Regions from separate parts of the Homo sapiens genome. Here region 1 is linked to region 2. The links are contacts of gene promoters, found by promoter capture Hi-C in blood cells and fetal thymus (Javierre and others, 2016). All regions are on one chromosome and are shown on one strand. Each heading gives the region's core, a stretch centred on a gene start or on the middle of the fragment in contact. The rest is flanking DNA. Distances are from core to core; before and after follow the strand shown.

Region 1 (3,192 bases), core at 620-3,119, 550 kb before region 2:
TCATCGATGCCAACCCTATCCTAATCTAACTTTCCCTATATTGGCCAAGACAGCCTAAATCTTTGGGTTGGAGGCCAGGTTTACATTTTATCTAAAAAGTGGCATAGTTACAGTTTTTAATAATAGAGAAACTATTTTTGTGTGTTCGATATCATACCAGATATACATCCCAGCAGACATGGATTGTTTAAATATGTGAGCGCGTGGAAAGGGAGGATTGGCCTCCCTGACCCCCAACACTGTGAAATGCTTGTTCCTAGTAAATTATAAGTTGCAATAAGTCAGTTAACACCGTAGAATCACACCATTGTCCTAATAGTAAAATAGCTGTGAGAAAAGACTTGTGATAAGATTGTAACATAGGAAAAATAATGCCTTTCCAAAAATCAACAGTGCACAAGCTCACAAAGCATGCCAGAAACAAAGCAGAGACAAGAAGTCATTCAATTGTTCAACATGTGCTGCTGAGCATCTACTGTGTACCAAACCCTGTTGAGAACATGGGCATTAGGGACGTGGAGTTATATAAAAGATATATAGGCCAGGCACGGTGGCTTACGCATATAATCCCAGCACTTTGGGAGGCCGAGGTGGGTGGATCACGAGGTCAGGAGATCGAGACCATCCTGGCAAACACGGTGAAACCCCATCTCTACTAGAAATACAAAAAAAAAAAATTTAGCTGGGTGTGGTGGTGGGTGCCTGTAGTCCCAATTACTTGGGAGGCTGAGGCAGAATGGCGTGAACCCGGGAGGCGGAGCTTGCAGTGAGCTGAGATTGTGCCACTGCACTCCAGCCTGGGGGACAGAGCAAGATTCTGCTTCAAGAAAAAAAAAAAAAAAAATATATATATATATATATATATATATAGAGAGAGAGAGAGAGAGAGAGAGACAGAGAGAGAGAGAGAGAGAGAGACCTTGCTCACAAAAAGGTCACATGCCATCTTAAGGGAGAGACAATCAAATAAACAGATCACACTCCGTGGGATGACAGGTGCTACAATAGTGATTTGTGTCTCCACTGTGGCCAGGGGCTGATACCAAAGGAGAAATGCAGGACAAAGTGAGGATCTTATTTCCTGGGCGGCATGCCCAGTCCAGCACTCACAGACACCCTTCTTCCTATTCCAGAGTCCTCCTCACACACATGAGAAGAGGCTCTAGCTTCCTTTGTGGTCACTACCTCTAGTCTTCAATCACCAAGAAAAAGTCAGGAGTTGAAAGGCCAAACCGTGTACCATTATAAGCAAAGCTGCAAACTGACAAGTCAGTCCAAGGCTTACAAAGCAGTGTTTGTACGGTGCTTTCATAGGCTTGGTTGGGGGTGATAAGTACAAATTTCCCACGCAAATATATGTAAAGCTGGTGTTTAGTAAGCTTGTAATAAACGGGAGTGTTTATAACTGCTAAACATAATGATAACACTGGAACTCTTTACAAGAAAGCAAAACTAAAAGTGTGTGAAGAAACTGCCCGGCCACGTGCTGGGCTGTCCCCATCATCAGGCCCGGGAACGTAAACTCCTGCACCTTAGCTCCCTCGTGATCGACAGTCATCCAGAAAGCATATCACCTAAGCCACATCTCCCCCTTTTCCCAAAGCCCTGTCAAAGCTCGTCACTTTGAGTCAAGGAAAGCACTTGCCCTGGGAAGTCCTTCCTGTGAAGCCACCCTTATCCCTGCCATGCCTGAGCCCCAGACCCTCAACCCACCTCAGCCTCCGTCCAGTTACAAATCCCAGGCCAGTCCATCGCCTGGACTCTGGCTTCCCCACCCAGTTTCTCCTCTTCTGCTCTGCCTTGTCACCTCCTTTCCTCCTTGCTCTCCTGCTGCATCGCTCGGGAAGAAAGCCTGCTCCCCGAGAGGCTGGGCAGCAGAGGTACGACCATGCTCTCCTTCTACCTGAGAAAACCCAGGCCCAGGGAAGCCTCGCCCCTTGTCCAGGGTCACATTTCTTGTAAGTATTACATACTAAATATGTAATACATGGGACATGCAGGGACTTGAAGCCATTTCATTCTACTGTGAATAGTAGAATATTATGTTTCAGGGTCTAGACCCGAAGTCATCAGCTCCAAGAGGAGACTCTAAGATTTCTCATGGTGACTAGAAGCCTGTTAGAACACCTCCTAGAGACACACAATTGCATCCAGACTTAGAGGCATGTGGGAAAAGTAAATAAGAAAGGGAATGAGGAAAGTAACACAAGATATCATTTATATGTTCTGCTTCAAATTGTCTTTTCTGAGGGGTTTTTAGGACACAATACATCACACTTCCCTGTCCCTTGTTGTATTCAATCTTTCCAAAAGCTATGGCAGTAATGAAGGGTCTGGAAATGTCCTTCCACCTGCCATGTGAAGCTTCCAGCTGAGCTACAAGGAAAACCTAGACAGACAATCTTGAGAACCACGTGGGTGCACCATCACCTCCAGAGTCTCTTGGCCCTTTCTCTCCGTGATCTCGTCCACTCCATGAGTCCTTCTGATGTCATGCTAGAACTCCCGTAAGATTGTGTGCTTGGTCCTTAGAGCCTCCGTATGTTTTTCTTTCATTCCATAGGAGCACTATTTCAATGGGTATGGCCTCACACCCTCCTCCTGTCTCCATTTCCTTTAATCACATCTTAAGCCCCTGCAATTGGGCATCTGCCCAAACTCCTCTTCTGTACCTGCTCCCTCAATAGCCAGTGACCTTCTTCCCAAATCTGGTGATATTTCCAAGCCTCCCCTCTTCCCAGGCCTCCCTGAAGCAGGTGGCCCAGCTGATGTCTCCTTCCTTCAGGAAATTGTCTACATCTGGTCCTCTCTTGCATGCTCAGTTGTATTCCCTTCTTTAGGGAAGAAAGTAGGCTATGAACTAGCAAAGCAATGCCCTATTTCTGCCTTTGCTGCTTCCTGCTCCACCCTGACACATACTCTCACTCTCTCTCACTCTCTCTCTCTCTCTCCCTCTCTCTCTCTCTCTCTCTCTCTCTCTTTCTCTCTCTCACTGCTCCCTAAGTCCCTGAGTGTCGGTGTCCTGCAAGTCTCACTCCTTGGCCTGCGCTCTCCTCATTCTCAATAGGCTCATCCAGTCTCATGATTTTAGCCTTCAGCCCTGATGGCAACTCCCAGTCTTTGCTCCTAACTGTGACTCTCAGGTGTACTCTGTCTCATGGTTTGTTTATTTATTTATTTATTTATTTATTT
Region 2 (3,057 bases), core at 11-2,510:
GAGTAAAAAAATAAATTCTGATTCTTCTTCTTCTTCTTAATGTGTACTCTACATGTTTCAACAAATCTCAACCCACTTAATCTTGAAAACACAGCAGCCACACCATAGCTGATGGCTTTCTTGGATCCTGCAGCCCCCATCCTTTCTTGGATAGGAGACTAACCATACAGCAAGCTGGCAGCTTGCAGGCAGCTTGCAGGATAAGAACCTGGGGACAGAGGGAGCCGCTGAAATAAAAAGAAGGATGTGCTTCAGTTGGACATTTTGCAATTGAATTTCCCTTCCTTCTCCAAGAAAGAAGCTGAATAAAAATGAGCTTGTGTCAAATTTGATCCAAGTATACTAACTGATTCTCCCTACCCAGGCCTTGGGGGCTTCCCAGACTAATGGTTCCTAATGGTCTTACAAGGCATCAGATGGGCCAGTAATGCTGAAATAGTTAGTGCCACTGAGGATCTAACCAAGGCGATGGCAAAGAACACCAGGATGCTTGGACCGCAGTATATTGAGCTTGCACCCAGGCAGGGTCACGTGGAATCATCTAAGTGGTGAGCAGCATTTCTGCCCCCTTTATCGTGCATCCTGTCCGCTAGAGCAGGGCCCCTTCACCTTTTAGCCCTGCATGAGCCCAAACCCCCAAGCGTCCCGACTGGCTGCAGCTGGCACTCACTGTAGGGGTTCTCCTCGTGGGTCCCGCTGATCCGGCCGTCGGGGAGCACCTGGAGGTGAAAGCCGATGCCCACGTTGCAGTAGAGCCTCCGCTGCCGCTTGATCCCCACCAAATAGCCACTTTCCCAGTTCACCCCGGCAATCTCTCCAGCTAGCCCGGCGCGAGACCTGGACAGCAGGGTGCCCCAGCCCCTCGAGTCCAGCAGCGTGTTGTTGGCACGGGTGCCTGCAGGCGAGGGCACCACCATGCCCACTAGGATGCCTAGGAAGACGAGAGCCCACAGCGTGCCCTGCAGACGTCCTGCTCCCCGGGACATAGTGATGAACAGTTTCTGTCCCAGGGCCATCCACCTTGCCTCTCAGGCACGTGGTCAGAATTAATGGCCCTAAAAATACCGCCCTTCTTGTTTTTCTCCCTCCGGCATGGCGGCAGGGGCTTATTTTTGGAAGGCAGATGAAGGCTGCTGACATGAAACCAAAGCCTCCATCGGGCACTCGGGTTGAGAGCAGAGGGACCCAGGCTGAGCCGCGGCCGGTAGAGACCATGGCTCGGGGACGCTCTCTAGCTCGCCCGCTTGCTCCGTCCCTAGTTGATGATATTTGATTTGACCTATCTTTATAGTTGCTTCAGCAGCCCGGCCCTCCCCTCCACCCATCATCGCCCTGACGTCAACCCGCCCAGCTCACTTATCCAGGGCTGTAACATTAACCTGCTCTTGGGCCTGGCTGCCTCCCCAGACCCCCATCACCCTCCACACTCCCCAGGGGTTCTGGGAGCCACTGTCATTCCAACTATGAGGCAGGAATGAAGTGAGCAGGGAGCATCTCTGGGGGAGGGGGGAGCTGGCTGGGGGCCCAGGGAAAGAGAGAGGCGAGAGGCCACCCAGGACCCATATTGGGCAGAAGTTCTTTGCCTGGCAGCGCTGGCTTCCTTATTTAGAGGGCAATAGGTAGAGGCAGGGATGGGAAAAGGCTTGTGGTAGTGATGACCGTAGCCTCAAGTCACCCTTGAGATCTTTTCATGGAAACAGCTCATGGTGGAGGGGAACACTGAAAGGCCAAACCCTTTCAGCAGGAGGGCACAGACATTCTCAGGGGGTGGGGATGGGGGTTGTTCAAGGAGCTTTAAGATTGTGGAGGGAAGGAGGGCAAGGGCAAGGTTTGCCTGCTCACTGTCCTGGTCCCGACATTCACCTGGGGTGGAAGTTGTGTCTGGCCTTTGACACAGCCCCCTGGCCATTCTCCCTGGATTTATCCCTGGCATGTGACTGATATTATTCCCATTTCACAGATGAGGAAGTTGAGGCTTAGAGAGGATAAATGACCTGCCCGAGTTACCATAGCTAATAAGTAGCAAAGCCAGAACTTCTAAGGTGTGCCTGAGTCTAAAGCCTGTGCATGTCTAATGCTTGCAGTAGAAGTTGGCTGGCCCATAGAGTCTGTTTAGCTCCTTAAATGCCAATAGCACATCACAGAGTTATTTCAGTAGCATAAAATGATTTATTTCTTAAAAAAAACTTGAGTGTCTTTGATGTACATGAGAACTTCTATATTTGCAGATAACTTTTGCTGGGCTGATATTACACTCAGAAACTAGTAAAAATATTTCTGCCAGGAAGTTATTCCTACACTGATTTATCTTATTCCCATATTACTTTTAAATAGATTACATGTCTAACTGAAGTGAGAAAAAAAATGTAAAGCTACCAGAAAACTCACTGCACAAATTTCTATACAATATAAGACAGAACTATTAATACGTCTCTGAGGGTGAATAAGTTAACAAGGGTCGCTGGGGAATTGAATTAACTTGAGTTAAAAATCCTGTTTCTTGTACTTCAATCCAGGCCTTAATCTGTTGGTGAGACATTAGCACTGATTTTGCCGGGATTGGAGAGAGTATGTGTGGGGTGATGACAGTGGCATACAGATGGATTTGAGTGTCCTGAGCAGTAGAGCTGGTCCCAGCAGGCAGCTCCCTTAGCCACACTCTACACCCACATTGCAGGCTGCAGGCAGCCTGGAAAAGCTCCTGGGGTGAGTTCCATGGCCCAAGGACTCTACTGAGGCACCACCGCCTTCCCTCTGATTCTAAACCTTCTGCTGTGCCCTGGGTCCCAGCCTCTGGTCTGTGGCTTCTACCTGCCTTCTCTCTGCCCTTCTGCCTCGTTCACTGGGTTCGATGCTTTGGTTCAAATTTCTGTCAAGCCATGTGTTTAGTGTTGCCCTAGACATGCCTTCTGAAATCCTGTGAAGCCCAGATGTCTGTCTTTACCCTCAGCTGGTAAACTGAATGGGGAGGGACATAGGCACCACTTGTTCCTACTGTCACCACGGCCCCCTGACTTCCCCATTGGCTTCCTCTCCCTTCCACTGCCGTTGTCCCAT

The links. The method cuts DNA at HindIII sites, captures the fragments that hold promoters and counts their contacts. A CHiCAGO score of 5 or more calls a contact.
Region 1: a fragment that was not itself captured here is called in contact with the fragment with the promoter of FGF6 in region 2 in 1 of 17 cell types (monocytes); the score reaches 6.2 in monocytes.

What each region holds. Positions count from the first base shown.
Region 1 is chr12:3,889,907-3,893,098 of GRCh38, forward strand. The region is part of intron 1 of PARP11-AS1 (PARP11 antisense RNA 1); the gene reads left to right. Among named protein-coding and RNA genes, the nearest start is that of PARP11, 18 kb to the left of the region's middle. The HindIII fragment of the contact is 985 bases long and covers 1,378-2,362 here.
Region 2 is chr12:4,444,555-4,447,611 of GRCh38, forward strand. It overlaps FGF6 (fibroblast growth factor 6), which reads right to left and starts at 1,261. Exons shown (of 3, transcript NM_020996.3): 1 at 671-1,261. The coding sequence starts at 1,016. The HindIII fragment of the contact is 8,014 bases long and covers 1-3,057 here.